3 separate regions of the Homo sapiens genome follow, and regions 2 and 3 are each linked to region 1. Evidence: promoter capture Hi-C in 16 types of primary human blood cells and fetal thymus (Javierre and others, 2016). All regions are on one chromosome and are shown on one strand. The core of a region is centred on a gene start or on the middle of the fragment in contact, and the rest is flanking DNA. Distances in the headings are between cores, read along the strand shown.

The links. Contacts are between HindIII fragments. The CHiCAGO score rates a contact against its expected background, and 5 or more counts as called.
Region 2: a fragment that was not itself captured here is called in contact with the fragment with the promoter of HPS5 in region 1 in 1 of 17 cell types (total CD4 T cells); the score reaches 5.4 in total CD4 T cells.
Region 3: a fragment that was not itself captured here is called in contact with the fragment with the promoter of HPS5 in region 1 in 13 of 17 cell types (neutrophils, naive CD4 T cells, total B cells and 10 more); the score reaches 9.6 in neutrophils.

What each region holds. Positions count from the first base shown.
Region 1 is chr11:18,319,812-18,324,058 of GRCh38, reverse strand. It overlaps HPS5 (HPS5 biogenesis of lysosomal organelles complex 2 subunit 2), which reads left to right and starts at 1,919. Exons shown (of 23, transcript NM_181507.2): 1 at 1,919-2,113. GTF2H1 (general transcription factor IIH subunit 1) reads right to left here and starts at 1,492. Exons shown (of 15, transcript NM_005316.4): 1 at 1,319-1,492. RefSeq lists enhancers at 1,515-1,934, 1,945-2,244, 1,135-2,334, 1,472-2,421. The HindIII fragment of the contact is 9,902 bases long and covers 1-4,247 here.
Region 2 is chr11:18,673,759-18,678,005 of GRCh38, reverse strand. No RefSeq gene overlaps it. Among named protein-coding and RNA genes, the nearest start is that of TMEM86A, 23 kb to the left of the region's middle. The HindIII fragment of the contact is 2,972 bases long and covers 913-3,884 here.
Region 3 is chr11:18,617,343-18,621,589 of GRCh38, reverse strand. All of the region lies in intron 1 of SPTY2D1 (SPT2 chromatin protein domain containing 1), which reads left to right. Among named protein-coding and RNA genes, the nearest start is that of SPTY2D1, 15 kb to the left of the region's middle. The HindIII fragment of the contact is 1,760 bases long and covers 1,492-3,251 here.

The sequences.
Region 1 (4,247 bases), core at 670-3,169:
AAAAAATGTCGGCTGAGTGAGGATAGCAGACCATCTCTTTTTTCTCCTTTCTGAATGAGGGACTTAAGCCTGCTAACAGGTACAAAGTTCTCTCCAGAGTTTAGTCCTTCTCTAAGTCCAAGGCCTGCTACTAGAGGTTACCTTCCCTGCGGTTGTGACCTCTCCATCTCAACTGCTCTGGTTTTGTCTTTTAAAAAATCTTAAGGTTGGCAACTTTGGCTTAATTACCTAAGTCCAGTTCAGTGGTTTTCAAACTGTGTTCCAAGGAGTGGCCTCTAGGATAGAAGTTAAGTGGGGTGGTGGGGCCTGGCCCTTTTAAATTTAGTTCCACCAGAGCATGCTGCTTTATATATTGGGTTCCAGATAAAAATTCATGGGGAGAAATTGTTCCACTCCTTTAAAATGTTTGAAAATCACAAGTCTGGATATTGGTTTGTATGGAGTCAATACTCACTGCAAAGCACATTTCATTCAAACCACTCAGTTTTTTTTTTGTTTTTGTTTTTAAGACTGGGTCTTCAAATGGACAAAGGGTGTATTTTTCATATCTTCTTTCCCCATCCCCATTTTACTGATGCTAAAATTGGAGTTTAGGAGTCATTTGGGGCCAGGCACTGTAGCATAATTCTGGCGCTTTGGGAGGTCTAGGCAGGAGAATCGCTTGAGCCCAGGAATTCGAGGTTACAGTGAGCTATTATCACGCCACTGCATTCCAGCCAGGACGACAGAACAAGACTCTGTCTCTTAAAAAAAAATAAGAAAAGTCACCTCCTTATTTAATTTGGCCTTTGAGAACACTGGGGGATTTACAAAATAATTACATATATCCAGGTACTCATGGTCTATTTTTCATCATTACACGACAATCAAATGACCAAAACTAGGAGTGTGTGGACTGGCACGTGTTAAGGTTTTTAAGAGAGGTAAGATTGACAGGTGGAAGCAAAAGGTGTGCAGACAACAAGGTGACAGCTTTTCTCTTACAGAATCCCAGACTCAACAGCACATTTCCTGACGGGAAGGGCTTCTCTGTCTGGGAGAGGCCTCCACTTCATTCTCATAAGCCAAATCTGATCCTGGCTTTGGGTAAACCTGCTCTCAATTTAAGAGCAGGTTTCCTTTAGACAAGTAGATTAGGGGTCGCCTCTTCCTCGCCTCGGGATAAGGGCAAACAAGACGCCAGGCTTGGGCGTTGGGAGGACGGCGACAGCGACGCTGGGAACAGGGGTAGAATCCACGCCGTCCAGCGGCCCCCAGGCCTGTCAGCTCCTCACCCGCCCACCCACCCGCCCGCCTGCATTCTTCGGTCTAAACTTACCAGGTGGAAGCTACAACTCTAGACAGGAAGTAACTAACTGGGTTGGATCCGGTCGAGTTCCGCTGCGCTTCTTAGAGCCGCTGCTGGGAAGAGGCCGAAACCCAGTGGCCGCAGCAGTAGCCACCGCCTCTGTTACTAGGGGGTCTCGCCTCCATCGCTGGCTGCGAGGAGTCTGAGGGCACGTGACCGGAAGTAGCAAGGCGGGCCCTGGGCACGTGACTCAAGAGCGCGGCCGCCATGACACCTTCCGCTAGTTCCCTCCCTCCCCCACGGGTTCCCGCCTGTTTCGTTTCCTCTCTCCGGTCTCGAGCGGCGAAGGGTCCTGGGATCCTGGCTGGCCCAACCATTTGGCCTAGAGCTCCTCCGGTTCCAGTCGGCGCCGTGTCTCCAGCCCGCAACGGCCCTGCGGTCGCAGGCCGTAGAGAGCGTAATCGCGACCGCGGCCTGAGGGGGAGGGACCACGCGGAAGGAGGGGCGTGACTCGTCACGTGATGAGGAAGTGCCGTTAGTAGCGTTGTTTCCAGTCTGCGGCTCTCCTGGATGACGTCAGCAAGGAAGGGGAGGAACGCGAGGGGAGACTGAAGTTCACGTTCCGCTCTTAGTGCGCGGTGAGTTCCCCGGCGCTAAGCCGGGAGACAAGATCCGATCTACTGAGAGCTGCGAGGTACTGCCCTGGATGTGGTGGAGCTGGGCTGGGACCTCCGGGCTGCTGGTCTGTGAGCCTGGCTTTGAAAATTGGTTACTGGGTCTCCTCTCAAGAAATCTCAAGATATTAAAGTTACTGCTGTTAAAAAGGTAGTAGTTCCACTAGGCAAGGAGCTTTTTGTGGGTAGGGATTGTGTTTTGTTCATCCCTGTGTCTCTAGCGGTGTGTTCAGGTCCTGGAACATAGTAGGCACTCAGAATGTTGAATGAATGAATGTATAAATGAGTCAGTCGCCATTTGTCTGAGGCAGAGAGTTGTTTTCTGATCATTTCTTCTTGGATAGAAAGATCCCATTGTGAAAATGAGGCAGTCTGCAACTTCCCCTTCTCATTTCTTCAATTTTTGCTATCTTTCTTACTTCTTTCTCCTCTTCCTCCACGCACCTACTGGGGCAAAAGAGAAACATGTTTGCATTTGATGTGTGAGCAACAAACACTGAACTATTTTACGATAATGGAAAGATGAGATTTGGATTCAGGAGACGCGTATTCTAATCTCAGCTCTACCATTTATGAACTCTGTGATCCTTGGGCAAGCCAGTCTCCCAAAAGTTGTTTCATTTACTTTGGTTAAGCATTTGTCGCCAACTTCTATGTTCTTAGTTTTTGGTAGAGTGCCTTCACAGAAGTAACATTTAAACTCAGCTTTGCAGAAAGGTAGGGTTTTGGTAAATGGGGGAAGATTCCATAAACATCATATATTAAACCATGGAGGCACAGCAAGTTTATGGAATGAAAAAGAAAAAAAGAGTCGAGTCCAATGTAGTTGGAGAATAGAGAGGTTAAGATGGGAAATAAGGCTGGAAAAAGAAGCAGGGAGGAGATAACAGATTTTCAAGAAATAGAGCTGTTGAAGGCTTGTACAATATTATGTATATATTTTTTAAATTTTATTGTGGAAAATTTCAAACGCAGACAAAAGTAGGATAATAAATTGAACCCTCATGTACACTTAACGCAACTTGAACAATTATCAGCATTCTGCTGTTCCTCTTTATACTGTTTGTACATTTCTAGGTACTTTTTATATCCATTGTTGCATTTGATTAATAGCAGCTTTCAATTTGAGCTCAGTTCTACTGTATGTAGCTACTGGCTAAGAAGATTTTATTTATGTAAACAATTTCTTTGGGTTTTAGTTGACCACTTGCTCTGTTGAATCAATGTGTAACATGGCCACTTAAACACAACTAATACTGTTTTTAGGTTGTAATATAGAAACTTAGTGTCTAGATCCAGGAAGTTAGTGTTTCTACTCTATTCTGGGCTCATCTAACTACTTAAGGAGTATTATGCTCAGTTCTAGGCACCTCATTTTTAGGCAAACTACAGTGCCTCTGTAGAAGGTTGACTGGAACAGAGGGTTGGAAAATGTCATGTCAGGAGTGATGAAGAAACTGGGAATGTTAAATTTTTAGAAGACCTGATAATGCTTTTCAAATACAGAAGGATTGTTTTGGAAAGAGACAGCTTGTTCCCTTCAGCTGTAGAAGCTACATACAATTAGGAATAATGGTAGAGCTCTAAGTGATCAGGCTTCAGCATAGTATTAAAAAGAACCTTATAATAGTGAGCCCTTTGGAGGACTGGAATTGGCAGCTTCATGAGAGTGAGTGCTTTCTTTCCATGGCTGAAAATGTTCAGGGATCTAGGGCAAAACTAATTTCTGAATTAGGTGGACATGTTCACTGAATTACCTATGAATCTTTTTCCATCTTGAGAATTCTAGGAAGTAGGGCTCATGTGCGATCTTGAAAGCTGGGTATGTTTGGATAAGAAAATCTGGAAGGGAAGCAGTCATTTCAGGGAGAGTAAACATAAAGTATAAAGTTGAAGTTGGTTTAACACTGTCATTCAGCAGCTTCTCTGAGAATTGGCATTGCTTATGCTGTTTTTATTTTCCATTCTCATTTCTGTTAAATTCTTTTTTTCTTTTCAGTAGAACTTACTAGGTGTGTCCCCCTGCACACCCCCGCATTATATTATAACTTCCAGGACATTCTCTTTTTACCGAGATTAAGGCAAAATGACCTACTCAGAGTTTCTTTGTTTCAAGATCACAAGTAGAAGAGACACTATGATATTATCATTCCTTTCCATCTCTTGGATCCTGTACCATGGTTTTATCTTTTTCTTGAATCTTCAGTCCCTTTCGTTCTAGACTCTACTTTTAGCTACTACCTACAAATCTGTTGAAGAGTCTCCCCAATAATAACGTCAAGAGA
Region 2 (4,247 bases), core at 1,149-3,648, 350 kb before region 1:
ACTACCATCATCATCACTTTATGAAATAAAAGACATTTTAACCATAAAAATGAAGAAAATAATCTCAGAATTGAGGTCAATCATTTAGTAAAAAGAGTTGCATTACTTTTATTTTTCCCATTTCTCTTAGGCCTGGTGAAAGCACTATCAGGAACCAGCACTAGTTTGTTGGTGGGTATTTGGGGACAGCAAACACAAGGCACATAGCAGAGAGGCATTGGCTGTGACAGGTATGGGAGGCAGCCTGGGGCCACGGAAACAGCTCTGGAGGCCAACCACTTCTGGTTAGACTCTTACCACAGCAATTTCTCCTGAGCGAGTGACAGAATCTTTCTGAGCCTCAATTTTCTTTGAAATCGGGAGACAAGTAGTTCCCTCAGAGAGTTTTTGTGGGAATTAAATGAGAAAAGTATATAAGGCACCTAAATATACAGCACCTGACACTTAATAAGTATTGAGTAAATAGTGCTTTCCTGGCCGGGTGTGGTGGCTCATGCCTATATTCCCCGAACTTTGGGAGGCCAGGGCGGGCGGATCATGAGGTCAGGAGATCGAGACCATCCTGACCAACATGGTGAAACCCCATCTCTACTAAATATACAAAAATTAGCTGGGTGTGGTGGCATGTGCCTGTAATCCCAGCTACTCAGGAGGCTGAGGCGGGAGAATTGCTTGAACCTGGGAGGCGGAGGTTGCAGTGAGCCAAGATTGCGCCACCACACACCAGCCTGGTGATATAGCGAGACTCTGTCTCAAAAAAAAAAAAAAAAATTGTGCTTTCCTTCCTTTGAGGAAACTTAAACTCAGAGTGGGCCTTTAACTGCCTAGAATGACTTAGGGATGGCCTTTTCTGAAAATAAGTGGGTTTCTCAACGTTCACAAACTGGAATGCATCAGAATCATTGGGAAGCTTGTTAGACATATACATGACCAAACTTCACCTAACAAGTTCTGATGCCAGGGCTTTAGGGTGAGGCCCTGACATCCGTATTTTAACAAGCTCTTGAAGTGATTCATATGCACACCAAAGTCTGAACCTCTGTGCTAATAACTCATTGATTGAGCCATTCATCGAATAAGCATGTGCTAGGTGCTGGGCAGAGGCAAAGAAAACTATATATATATATATATACTTTAAGACAGAGTCTCACTCTGTCTTCCAGACTGGAGTGTCGTGGTGCAATCTCAGCTCACTGCAACCTCTGCCTCCCAGGTTCAAGCAATTCTCCTGCCTCAGCCTCCCGAATAGCTGGGACTACAGGCACGTGCCACCACGCCCAACTAATTTTTTTATTTTTAGTAGAAACGGGGGTTTCACCATGTTGGCCAGACTGGCCTCAAAGTCCTGACCTCAAGTGGTCCACTTGCCTTGGCCTCCCAAAATGCTGGGATTACAGGCGTGAGCTAGCGCGCCCAGCCAAGAAAACAATTTATTTTTTGATATGCCAATGCCTACCACAGGGCCTTGCACATGTGAGCATTTATTTAAAAGTTAACACATAACAGTCTTTAAGGAGGTGCATCTTTATGTGGGAGACAGACATAAGAATCAATAAATCCGTAAATAGATTGAGTACCAAGAAAGGCTAATGCTGCCTTCAGAGAGAGATATCTGAGAAGGCTTCCTAGGGAAGGGATATCTGATAGCTTAAAAGATAGGCAAGGTTGGGGCTGGGCACGGTGGTTCACACCTGTAATCCCAGCACTTTGGGAGGCCGAGGCGGGCAGATGACGAGGTCAGGAGTTCGAGACCAGCCTGGCCAACATGGCAAAACCCTGTCTCTACTAAAAATGCAAAAATCAGCTGGGCATGGTGGTGGGCACCTGTAATCCCAGCTACTCCAGAGGCTGAGGCAGGAGAGTCGCTTGAAACCAGAAGGTGGAGGTTGCAGTGAGCCAAGATCACACCACTGCACTCCAGCCTGGGCCAAAGAGCAAAACTCCATCTCAAAAAAAAAAAAAAAGAAAAAAAAAAAGGCAGGGTTTACCAGCCAGAATATCACATGTGTGCAAAGATGCAGAGGAGTGACAGAAAATGACTAGGTGTGTCTGGAGCTTAGGGTACCAGGGAGAATGGTGGGCAAGGAAGCAGGAAGAGGTGTGTGTTTGAGGACCAGATTGTGGTGGGCCTGCTCTGCTAGAGTTTCAACTTTGCGATGAAGTTCATGGGAGCCATGAAGATTTTCAGATAGGAGGTGAATTATCAGATTTTCATTGTAGAAAGATCATTCCAGCAGCAACCAATGTGGAGAATGGGAGGGCATAGTCAGTACTGGAGGTAAGGAGAGCAATTAGGAAGCTGTTGCAATAGTCCACAAAAAGAATGCAGAAGATCTGAACTGGAGTAGTGACAGTGGAGTGTGGAGGGGAGGCATGAAGACCCATTCAAAAGATTTTTAAGCAGTTCCTTCCAGTATCATGATTCTATCATTGCAGTATGGCCCTTTTCAAAACTTAGGGGAAATATTTTTTGCCTTACAGGCTATTATAAAGAACTTTTATGGTTATGAAAGTAACATAGGCTGGGCGTGGTGGCTCACGCCTGTAATCTCAGCACTTTGGGAGGCCAAGGTGGGTGGATTACCTGAGGTCAGGAGTTTGAGACCAGCCTGGACAACATGGTGAAACCCCATCTCTACCAAAACTACAATAAATAAATAAATAAATGAAATAGCCAGGTGTGGTGGCGGGCACCTGTAATCCCAGCTACTTGGGAGGCTGATGTAGGAGAAGCACTTGAACCTGGGAGGCAGATGTTGCAGTGAGCCGAGACTGCGCCATTGCATCCCAGCCTGGGCAACAAGAGGGAAACTCCACCTCAAAAAAAAAAAAAAGTAATGTATATACAGATTATGAGAACTTTAGAAAGCATAATAAAGCATAAAGAATATAATATAAATCACTGGCCGAGCACAGTGGGTCAGCCTTTAATTTTTATTTCATGCATTTTTCTTGACCCTTGACACTTTCTATCTATACAAAGGCCTAATGTATTGCAGTAAGTTAGGTAATAGTTAAAATTAATATATCAGTGTTTCATAAAGTACACAAGCAATAGGACAACTGAGGCTGTTGGGAAATATCTGGGGAAGAAGGTTGCAGATGGCAAGATTTGTTTGGACATGGCAACCAAGCTACCTAAGCCGTGACCTTAGAAAGTGGTATGAGAGGCTGGGCACGGTGGCTCACCCCTGTAATCCCAACACTTTGGGAGGCCGAGGTGGGTGGATCACCTGAGGTCGGGAGTTCAAGACCAGCCTGGCCAACATGGTGAAACCCCGTCTCTACTAAAAATACAAAAATTAGCCAGGCATGGTGTCACGCGCTTGTAATCCCAGCTGAGGCAGGAGAATCGCTTGAACCCAGGAGGCGGAGGTTGCAGTGAGCCGAGATCAAGCCACTGCACTCCAGCCTGGGCCACAGAGCAAGACTCCATCTCAAAAAAAAAAAAAAAAAATAGTGCTTGCATGTGACCAGAGGGGAAGAGTCAGCTCTTTTGATGGTCACATTGTCCTTGCTGCCTTAGGCTGAGGTTGCAGTTAATTAAATTCCAAAATATTTTCTTCCATCCTGTACTTCACAGTTTTCTGGATCTAAATTCAGGACTTGATATTTTTCCTATCGTGTTTCATCTGCTATCTTCCTGACCAGGGAGAGATTTGTGGATCCAGATGATTCTGGCAATAAATTCCACAGGTCCTGTCAATCCCCTCTGCTAGGGACTGAATTGTGATCCCCCAAAATTTATATGTGGAAGCCTTAATGCCCAATGTGCTGGTATTTGGAGATGGGGCCTACGGGAGGAGGTTAGGATTAGATGAGGTTATGAGTGTGGGGTGCTCATGTTGGATTAGTGCCCTTATAATAAGAGACACCAGAAAGCTTCTTTTGATTTCTCACTCCCCTGACCCCAAACCATGTGAGGAAGAAAGCCCTCACCAGAATTCAACTATGCTGACACCGCGATCTTGGACTTCCAGCCTCCAGAACAGTGAGAAAATAATGTCTGTTTTTTAAGCCATCCAGTGTATAATACAGTTGACCCTTGAGCAACGCAAGGGTGAGGGGAACCAACCCACCATATAGTCAAAAATCCACATATAATTCTTGACTCCCCCAAAACATAACTACTAGCCTACTGTTGGCCAGAAGCCCTACCGATAACATAAACAGTAAGTTAACACATCTTCTGTATGTTATATGTATTATATACTTTATTCTTACAAAGTAAGCTAGAATAAAGAAAA
Region 3 (4,247 bases), core at 1,122-3,621, 300 kb before region 1:
AAATGTGAGACCAGCTTAAGTATCCTTAATGATTAGAGGTGTTTAAAAAGGCAGAATTTGAAGTTGACATATAAATTGATGAGAATAGGTGTATACTTTGAAAAAAAGCTAAAAGTAGCCTTTGTTATTCTTTTCAAAGCAAATCTGAGTTCCTGAACACCACCTTCCTTGTTTTTATGCCTTTCCTGTATTTTTGTTCCCTAAGTCAGTGTTTCTTTTCTTTTCTTTTCTTTTCTTTTCTTTTCTTTTCTTTTCTTTTCTTTTCTGTTTTTTGAGACAGAGTTTCACTCTTCTCACCCAGGGTAGAGTACAATCACCCAGGCTGAAGTGCAGTGGTGCGATCTCGGCTCACTGCAACCCTTCACCTCCTGGGTTCAAGCAATTACTGCCTCAGCCTCCAGAGTAGCTGGGATTACAGGTGCCCACCACCACGCCTGGCTAATTTTTGTATTTTGATGGGGTTTCACCAAGTTGACCAGGCTGGTCTCGAACTCCTGACCTCAGGTGATCCACCCGCTTCAGCCTCCCAAAGTGCTGGCATTACAGGCATGAGCCACCACGCCCGGCCTCAGTCAGTGTTTTTAAAGAGCAGCACATATAGGGCCTGGATATAAATGGTATACAAATATACCATTTAAAATATTTCTACATTTTTTTACAAATAAAATATTTTTTATTTTAATAGTATTTTTTTTTTTTTTTTGAGATAGAGTCTTGCTCTGTTGCCCAGGCTGGAGTGCAGTGGCGCGATCTCGGCTCACTGCAAGCTCCGCCTCCCAGGTTCACGCCATTCTCCTGCCTCAGCCTTCCGAGTAGCTGGGACTACAGGTGCCCACCACCACGCTTGGCTAAGTTTTTTGTATTTTTAGTAGAGACAGGGTTTCACTGTGTTGGCCAGGATGGTCTCAATCTCCTGACCTCATGATCCGCCCGCCTTGGCCTCCCAAAGTGCTGGGATTAAAGGTGTCAGCCACCGTGCCCGGCTTAATAGTATGTATTTTTATATGAATTGGAAAAATATAACTAGTTGTTCAAGTCAGTCATTTTGTGGATATTATTGCTGAGGTAAAGCTATAATAACGGCTCATGATGTTTTTGTTTTTGTTTTTTTGAGACCGAGTCTCACTCTGTTGCCCAGGCTGGAATGCAGTGGCGTGATCTTGGCTCACTACAACCTCTGCCTCCTGGGTTCAAGTGATTCTCGTGCTTCAGCCTCCCAACTGGCTGGGACTACAGGCGTGAGCCACCATGCCTGGGTAATTTTTGTACTTTTAGTGGAGACAGGGTTTCACCAGAGTTCGAGGCCAGGCTGGTCTCGAACCCCTGACCTCAAGTGATCTGCCCGCCTTGTCCTCCCAAAGTGCTGGGATTACAGGCGTGAACCACCGCACCTGGCCAACTCTGTATGTTTTTTTAAATTAGTAAGTAATGGTAGGGGTAGTATACCACAAAGGCAAAAATCATAAAGGTAGTATGCAAATGACTGAAGCTTACTGAACACTGCATTAAACTATGCCCCATTGACACTGATGTTTTCCCTTTTGGATACCAGTATTCAGTCAAGAGCAGCTTTTCGGTTTGTCATATCCCACTTTCTATCTCTTGCAGTCCCAGGTTAAGATGAAAGATATCTATCCCAAAATCATGTTAGATAGTGCTCAATGCTGGGTTATTTGGACAGCAAACCAGTCCTGTTTAAAATAAGTAATGCTAATATATGTATTTGCATTTTTCTTGGGGAAAACCTTGCATGGGGCTTTGATTTGTATGGGGCTTTGTAACTCTATGAGCTATATAATGGACAGGGACAGGAAATTTTTGTTTTTTGTTTATTGAGACGGAGTCTTGCTCTGTCACCAGGCTGGAGTGCAGTGGCGCAATTTTGGCTCACTGCAGCCTCCGACTCCCTGGTTCAAGCAATTCTCTTGCCTCATCCTCCCAAGTAGCTGGGCTTACAGGCAGGCACCACCACGCCCAGCTAATTTTTGTATTTTTAGTAGAGATGCAGTTTTACCATGTTGGCCAGGATGGTCTCGATCTCCTGACCTTGTGATCCGCCTGCCTCAGCCTCCCAAAGTTCTGGGATTACAGGTGTAAGTCACTGCACCCAGCCTTTTTTTTTTTTTTTTTTTTAAAGAGATGAGTTCTCACCATGTTGTCCAGGCTGGCGTCTTAACTCCTGGGCTCAAGCTGTCCTCCCGCCTCAGCCTCCTAAAGTGCTAGGATTACAGGCTTGAGCCACTGCGCCTGGCCAGGAAAATCTTAAGTGTTAGTGAAAAAAAATCCACCTTCTTCTGCTTCCAAATCCCTTAATGGGATGGAGTGGAGTGAGTGTGTGCCTCTGCTTATGAGTTTTTTGTATGTCTTCATTTGAATCATATTCATGGTGCCCTTTCCACAATGAAAATGTAAGCTCCTTGTGATTAATACCTATGTTTGTGGTTCTTTTCTTGTAAACAAGGGCAATTTTATATATATCTAGTTAGGTTAGCAGTATTACTTCTCCTTTCTCCTCTCCCTTTCTTTCTCCCTTTTCTCCTTTAAATATTGAGCCCCTATCCACTATGGAAAGAGTCTAAAATTAAATTTACAAAGATATGGACTTTAAAGGATCTCACTATGGCCTAGCCAAGGTGACTGGGAAAGAAATCTGGATGCTGTCTTGGGACTTCTCTCTATTAGGGATATGTCACTTCTCAGCATTGCTATCATGCAAGATTTTCAGGTTGAATTAGAGCCTGCTTCCTTGGCCAGCTGCTTTGTTGGCAGACTAATTTAGTTGAAACTTCCAGCCTGTTTCAAGATACGTCGTATTTGGCAGCCTTATAGTAAGCACATATCTTTTGGTTTTCCTCCAAGAATTTCATACATATTTGGGAATACTTTTTTGGTTCCTAAGTTGTTCCTAAGTTGTCTCAATTTGTTCTTGGACATGTTTCTTTTTCTGCTAGCCACAGCAACAGGTACGTTAGATGAGAATGCATCTGCCTAACAAAACAAAAAAAGGAGGATACTTTAAAAATCTTATTTCCTGGATTTAATGTGGAATGGTCGTAGAGGTGAATCATCCCTGGTCTGAATTTATTTTAGCTCTATGTTCGTCATATTTCTCTCATAATAGGTACTTATAAAGTGGAAATATTTTTCCTTTTATAGTTCAAATTAACATTACTTGAGTTTAGTAATTTCTTGATGCAGTTATATAAAAACTGAGGTCCAGAGACTTCATCTGTGCCAGGATAATGTAAGCTTTTTTTGGGTGTTATAGGAACCTGTCTAAAAAGGAGGTTGTGAGGCAAATTAACATTTAGTGAACATAAGAGCTACAGTTAAAGGTTGCTGGGAATTGGGCCTTTATTGCATAGATTTTTTGAAATGCTTTTTTGCTGTGGTTTGCCCCAGCCTTTGTGTGTGGTCAAAGTAAAACCTCAGTGTTTCCGTGTTCTAAGCAAAATAAAACATGTAGCTATGAGTCTCTACTAGGAAATCATCTGGAGTAGTCAGGAGAGAAAATAGTTGTGAGGAGTAGTTTTTTCTGTTCGTTTGAAAAGTTGGACTTTGAAATGCTTCTTTCTAAGGCAGGCTATTTTTAAACTCAGAATTTTATACATTTACTTACTTACTTACTTACTTATAGATTGATGGATTGAGACGGAGTTTTGCTCTGTTGTCCAGCCTGGAGTGCAGTGGCGCAATCTCGGCTCACTGCAACCTCTGCCTCCTGGGTTCAAGCCATTCTCCTGCCTCAGCCTCCTAAGCAGCTGGGATTACGGATGTGCGCCACCATGCCCGGCTAATTTTTGTATTTTTAGTAGAGACGGAGTTTCACTATGTTGGCCAGGCTGGTTGCTAACTCCTGACCACAGGTAATCCTCCCACCTCAGCCGCCCAAAGTGTTGGGATTATAGGCGTGAGCCACCGCACCTGGCCTAAATCAGATTTTTTTTTTTTTTTTTTTTTTTTTGAGACGGAGTCTTACTTTGTCGCCCGGGCTACAGTGCAGTGGCACAATCTCGGCTCACTGCAACCTCTGCCTCCCGGGTTCAAGCAATTCTTCTGCCTCAGCCTCCTGAGTAGCTGGGATTACAGGCACCCGCCACTACGCCCAGCTAATTTTTTGTGTTTTTAGTAGGAATGGGGTTTCACCATGTTGGCCAGGCTGATCTCGAACTCCAGATCTCATGATTCGCCCGCCTCCGCCTCCCAAAGTGCTGAGATTACAGGCATGAGACCCTGAGCCCAGCCTA